2 separate regions of the Homo sapiens genome follow, and region 1 is linked to region 2. Evidence: promoter capture Hi-C in 16 types of primary human blood cells and fetal thymus (Javierre and others, 2016). All regions are on one chromosome and are shown on one strand. Each heading gives the region's core, a stretch centred on a gene start or on the middle of the fragment in contact. The rest is flanking DNA. Distances are from core to core; before and after follow the strand shown. Region 1 overlaps MMUT (methylmalonyl-CoA mutase). Region 2 holds the start of MCM3 (minichromosome maintenance complex component 3).

The links. Contacts are between HindIII fragments. The CHiCAGO score rates a contact against its expected background, and 5 or more counts as called.
Region 1: a fragment that was not itself captured here is called in contact with the fragment with the promoter of MCM3 in region 2 in 1 of 17 cell types (total B cells); the score reaches 5.7 in total B cells.

The regions. Positions count from the first base shown.
Region 1 is chr6:49,459,393-49,462,557 of GRCh38, reverse strand. It overlaps MMUT (methylmalonyl-CoA mutase), which reads left to right. Exons shown (of 13, transcript NM_000255.4): 2 at 3,053-3,165. The coding sequence starts at 3,092. Among named protein-coding and RNA genes, the nearest start is that of MMUT, 2.3 kb to the left of the region's middle. RefSeq lists an enhancer at 1-122. The HindIII fragment of the contact is 172 bases long and covers 1,589-1,760 here.
Region 2 is chr6:52,283,311-52,286,411 of GRCh38, reverse strand. It overlaps MCM3 (minichromosome maintenance complex component 3), which reads left to right and starts at 1,670. Exons shown (of 17, transcript NM_002388.6): 1 at 1,670-1,815; 2 at 3,006-3,101. The coding sequence starts at 1,738. RefSeq lists enhancers at 1,193-1,392, 1,713-1,792. The HindIII fragment of the contact is 4,216 bases long and covers 1,546-3,101 here.

The DNA.
Region 1 (3,165 bases), core at 425-2,924, 2.8 Mb after region 2:
TTTATCTAGAAAGAAGGTGGTCTTAGGGAAGCTCGAAGCCCTGGATAACGTATGTGTGTAAAGTTTTAAACCACTTGATGATTTTCTGCCAATATAATTTTGTGTTTAATGATGTACTTATGCTAATATCAAATATAATTTTCATGCCCTATGTTTCCATCTCCAAACCCAACTAGTTGAACATCAAAGTACCTTCTTGAAGTATTAATGTGCAATCATACGTCAGCAGCCAAAGCTTGAAACTTATTGGTTCAAGAAATCTTTTTCTCACTGATTTGTTTTTGAGGTGTGGGGGTGGGATTAATCATTGCTCTTTAACTCATTTTAGTTGTCAGTAACATATTTGCTTTGCATGTTGCTTCTTTGAATGCTTGAGGCCTCTCTTGATGGTCTTCTGAGAAAATTCAGAGGTCGTATTGCCATCCGCAGTAGTTGTGTTTTTATCTAAAAATGGTGTCTGTTTCCAGCCTCCACCAATTCACATGTGATTTTCAGGAAGTCACTTAAACGGGGCTCTTTCCTATTAGTTGTTCAGATTTAGGAAAGCCCACGTGAAATGAGTGTGATATTTCCTGCCAACAGTTTAGTCTCAGGTGGTTTTCAAATTACCTTTTACAGGATTACTATTGAAACAGTTTAGTTGTTGCTTCATTATTTTTTTCATCCACCTTTTAAGCTAGTAAATGTAGTGGATGGCTTGCAAAAAGATGGATGACAAGGACCCCATGGATTTAAAGAATAAAAATCGTGCTAGTATTAAAAAAATGGAAGGTTTTTTTGTTTTGTTTTGAGACGGGGTCTCTCTCTGTTGCCCAGGTTGGAGTGCAGTGGCACGATCTCTGCTCACTGCAACCTCTGCTTCCCGGGTTGAAGTGATTCTCATGCCTCAGCCTCCTGAGTACCTGGGATTACTGGTGTGCGCCACCATGCCCAGCTAATTTTTGTATTTTTAGTAGAGACTGGGTTTCACCGTGTTGGCCAGGCTGGTCTTGAACCCCTGACCTCAGGTGATCCACCTGCCTCGGCCTCCTGAAGTGCTGGGATTCCAGGCGTGAACCACCATGCCCAGCCTTTTTTGTTATGTTTCCATTTAGACTTTGTTCTATGTACTTTTTACATAGTTGAACCTGTTGCACTTACAATTACGTGTCTTGAGTCTTTTACTTACTACTTTTTGAGTTTGTTTCTCTTTTTTTGGGAAACTATGCATAACACATTTTTAACTTTTTACTTATACATATATTTACAGAAACTGCATAAAACATAACTGTATAATTTGATGAATTTCCACAAACAGAATATATCTATGTAAGTGGCAATCAGATCAAGACCATTACCCCCAAAAGCCCCTCTCTTGCTCCTGTTGTATTCTAGCAACCATTAAGTAACCATTCTTCTGACTTCTGACATCAAAGATTAGTTTTGCCAGCTTTCTAAACATATTTTGATAACTACATGAAATTCTATCATTTGTATATGCTGTAATTCACTTATTCATATGTTATGAGATACTTACGATTTTCCTAAGTTTTCTCTATTACAAATAAAACTATAGGAAACATCTATTTTATATATTACTACAGAAGCTTTCCCAGGAGTAATGTTCCTCAGTGGAATGGCATAAACATTTCTGAAGCATTTCATGTATATTGACAATTTACTTTCCAAAGTAGTTAAAATAGTTAATACTGTCACCAGTGGTTTATGTCTCTTGTTTAACGACCCCATAATAAGTGTTGAGTATTGATTTCATTTAAGCTTTACTAAACTGATAGGTAAGAAGTGGTATGGAAAATAAAATTTGAAACTCCCTTTACTTGTTGCCTTATCCAGTATAAAACACATAGTATAGTGAATATATTAATGTTTGCATCTCAATATCTTTTTAAACAATGGGCTCTATATGTTTACGCTGTATGACTCTGACAAGTTTTAGTAATTCAGGTAAACAGTTTACGGCTTTGTGAGGTGGGATTTTGATCAAGCGACTTTATTTCTCTGAGCCTCAGTTTCTACATCTGGAAAATGATGACGCTGAACCCAGCAACCTAGTATAAAAGTCTATGCTAGTTATCCGGAATATGCAGCTCTAATGTTGGAGCAGTTTATAAACTAGCACAGAAGTAGATTATTGAAGAGGCCATTTAGCTCACCTTATGGGTTCTGGGATGAATTGTGTGCATATTAGTTAAATGCAAGGACTTTGAAACAGGCTGCATAGGTTCCAATCAATGCTGGCTCTTCTGTGCCTCAGTTTCCTAATCTGTAAAATAAGGATAATAATAGTACCTACCTCTTAGGGGTATTGTAAAGATTAAAATTGCTACTCTCTGTGATGTCTTTATAGCCTTCTATGTTACTGGCACATAGAAACGCTGCAAATTGGAGATAATGCCTTAGCTGAATTAGCCAGAGAAGAACATTTTAGGCAGAAGGAAGAGCAAGAGCAAATTCAGAAAACTTTGACATATGTGCAGCCAACTGTAGGTAATCCAGTATTTCTAGTGCACAAAATGCATAAAGAGGACAAAGACAGAGATGGGTCTGAGGGGGAAACAGAGACCAGTTCATGAAGGCCTTGAATGCCTGTTTGTCTTATTCATCACTTTTTTCTCTATTACCCAACATAATGTCGGTCATAAACTGATATTTAATAAAAGCACTTTGAATGAAAAAATTAATTAGGAGGCTGTAGTATATCTTCCACATGATACAGAGTCTTTGAAAAATTCCATGAGGAGTGTGACATAGTCATATTTACATTGATGTCATTGTATGGAAGGGATTCGTATAGAATGGAGTAGAAAAGGAGTAAGACTGGTCAGTAAGACCAGCTAAGAGGCTACTGAGGAAAAAGACTGAAACTACAGGACTGATAGTAATTGTGAAGAAGAGGGGCCAAAGTTATAAAATATCAGGTGCAGGAAGCAGAAAAGGGGAAGAAATGAAATCAGACTAATACATCCTCTTTCTTTTCTGTTCCTTTCTTATGAGTAGCTCCTATTTCCCACCCCCTCTTCTAAATGTTTTTACTCTATGTTTCTTTTTCTAGGTCAGTTCTTATTTCTATTGGGTGTTTCCATGCTCCACCATGTTAAGAGCTAAGAATCAGCTTTTTTTACTTTCACCTCATTACCTGAGGCAGGTAAAAGAATCATCAGGCTC
Region 2 (3,101 bases), core at 421-2,920:
CTTTTGGACTTTCTACTACAAATGACTCGACTTCTTTGCTAGTTTGAACTAAGCTTCCCGGTTCTTTTAGTGTTAATTTCAAATTGTTTCCAGAGCAGAGGATATCTCAGTACTCTGTCCAATAAGTTCATAAAATAAGAGTTATGAGTAAAAAGTCTTAATAAATCAGTAATTACCTCTTGCTATATAACGGCAAACAGTATCTTTATTCTAGAATTTTCTTTTTTTTTTGCCCGTTAATAAACATAAAAGCAAGCAGTCAAATGACAGCCTTTTTGCTTTGGCTAAGGATCGATTTATCTGCCCACTAGGATGGCACAAAACATACAGTAACTATAAACTGAATAATAACTAGAAATACATATACCCACACAAATAGATGGCCTATATATTTTGTTTAGGCAGATTATTCTTAGAATATTTATCAGTACATAGTGAGTCCTGAAGACTTTAAAACATAAGCTAATAGTTGGCTGAAATTTCAGATAAAGAATTATCAAATGTCTGATGTTGGGCAATCCAGTATTTCAGCTTCTTGTTCAGTAAAATTAAAAACACATGCTGGGGCAATGGGCTTGCTCTTTATTGTGCAGAGTGGTTACATGGGTGTAAGCACAGGTAAAAATTCACTGAGCTGTACACTTAAGATTTGTGCATTTTACTGTATATACATTATATCTCAAAATAAAACTAGAAATATAAGAAAAAGCCAACCACGACGGACTGAAAACAAACATACAAATTTGGACGTGCGATGATCTTTTAGTCATTATGGTTTCAGATTTGCTGTTAGTTACTGATTGATATTTAATCAAAGTGACGTGAAACACTTTTTCCCCTCTTGAGCTGATCGTTCAGTAAGCTAAGTTACTTAAAAGGATCTTGTGATCTTTTTATAAGACCAGAAAGCCTTTAATTTACCTGTTATTAAGTAAGATGGAGTAGTAACGGTTTCCAAAATTTGTATAACACACGATGAAGTCTCTAGGGGGCAGGGTAAACACAGATTTTTTTTTTCACTTCATCCTTCTCTGCGGCGATGTCTTTATGGAGTTCGTCAGGCAACGGTATCAGATAGCAAATGGGTTTTTAACTAATCTTTCCCTAAGGTACTGTAGTTCTATATTCTATCCTATAGATTCTCAAAATCCACTTTTACACTAGGATGCCACTGGAGGGCAGTTCTGATTTGGATATATCTTAAAAATGATTTGCTTTTATGTTTTCATCTCCCTGCGTTATAAAGCACCATCCTCTGAATTTGGTCGTTGCATCGGGTCAAAAGTTCTGCAGCTTGAAAAACCCTGCAAAAACATCCGGAAAGGAGGGAGAACACTACAACTCCCAGAACGCAATGCTTTCCCTCTCGCCAGCCTGTCCCCTCCAGCTGCTCAATGACCAGCCTCTGTGAGCCTCCTCTCAGCCCTATTGGTCAGTTTGCTCGTCAGTGAGTGAGGCGGAGGGAGGGGAGGAACAGAGAATCCCGGATGGTACGTTTCCCGCCACCGCGGGGCGCGCAGCGGAAAACCCGAAGAAGAAGAAGCTTTTGATTGGACAGTCGCTAGTCCGACCTCAGAGAACTCAGCCAATCATAATGCTTATATGCTCCCAAGGTCCCCGCCTCTTCCTCGAGGTAACCTTTGGTGGCGGGAAGAGTTCGGAAGTTTTCGCGCCGGGGTGGAGTCATCCTGGGAACCTCCACGCGACTTTGGTGGAGGTAGTTCTTTGGCAGCGGGCATGGCGGGTACCGTGGTGCTGGACGATGTGGAGCTGCGGGAGGCTCAGAGAGATTACCTGGACTTCCTGGACGACGAGGTGAGGGAGGCGCCGGCGCGCGGGCTCTAGCGCTCGGAGCCCCTGCGGACGCGGCCCGGCCGGGAAGCCAGAGGCCCGCCAGACCTCCAGACCGTGTGCCGCAGCGGAGCCTGCCGGGCCCGAGCCTCCAGCCCCAATCTTGTAACTTCTCAACGCCGGACTCGCTAGTTTGTGTTCGATAAGTGAACTCTTAGGAAGCCAGCTTTCTCTTAAGTACAAGCGATGGTCCGGGCGCGCAAAAGGCGACAGGTTCCCATTAAGTGCAAGCAGATTGGCAAAGCCCACCTCGGCCTTTTGCATTTCACTGCTCTCTCTTGATTTGAGGAGACTGTGGGGGAGGGGCTGCCCTAGGGCTATAGTGACCAGCCGCGTTGCAGAGTGCTCAGATTTTAGGGACTGACGTTTTACCTGGAGGAAAAGACTCCATAATTCGGCTGCATTCTTTTTCAATACCAACTAAGATGCAGATAAAAAGTGTTTTGTGTGCAGGCCAAGGGGATTTTATGTGCAACCCAAGACTTAAAGCCATAGAATGTTGAAAAAACCATCTTGAAGGGTTGATGATGTGACCAAATAGCTGAGATTCTCTATTCCTTTAGGTCGGGGTATGAGAACCCTTTCCGTATTATAGAGATGATTGGAAAAAATATTACTTTTTACATAATTCTTAAATGAAAAGCCATTTTAATGTGACTATTAAGAGTCTGTTTTATTTACATTTTTATTGTATATATTTGAAGTGCACATGTTTTGATATACATGGTGAAATGATTACTACAGTGAAACAACATATCCATCTATTCACGTTGTTACCTTTAACATTCACATTGCTAGGTTTAACTTAACATTTTAACAAAGTTTGCACTTACTGTCCATTTAGACTTCTCATGAGCTCATTTTAATTCTCCACTAAAGACAGAAATTACAGCATGCAGAAAAGTTGTCCATGATGATGGGAATAACAGCATGGACCTTGAGGAAGTCATTATAATTCTTATAGTCCCCTCTTAGGGTGTTATTTCGAATCTAAAAACAGTGAATGAAAGGGAGAAATTGATGAGCACATACTTACTGGGGATTCAGCTCTGCTGCAGAGATTGACTTAGCTATCTGGCTATGAGAACTACTTCTGTTTAGAAACATTGTTTTTAAATTTGTGGCTATGGTGATATGTGGTGGCTGTTTTGCAGGAAGACCAGGGAATTTATCAGAGCAAAGTTCGGGAGCTGATCAGTGACAACCAATACCGGCTGATTGTCAATGTGAATGACCTGCGCAGGAAAAAC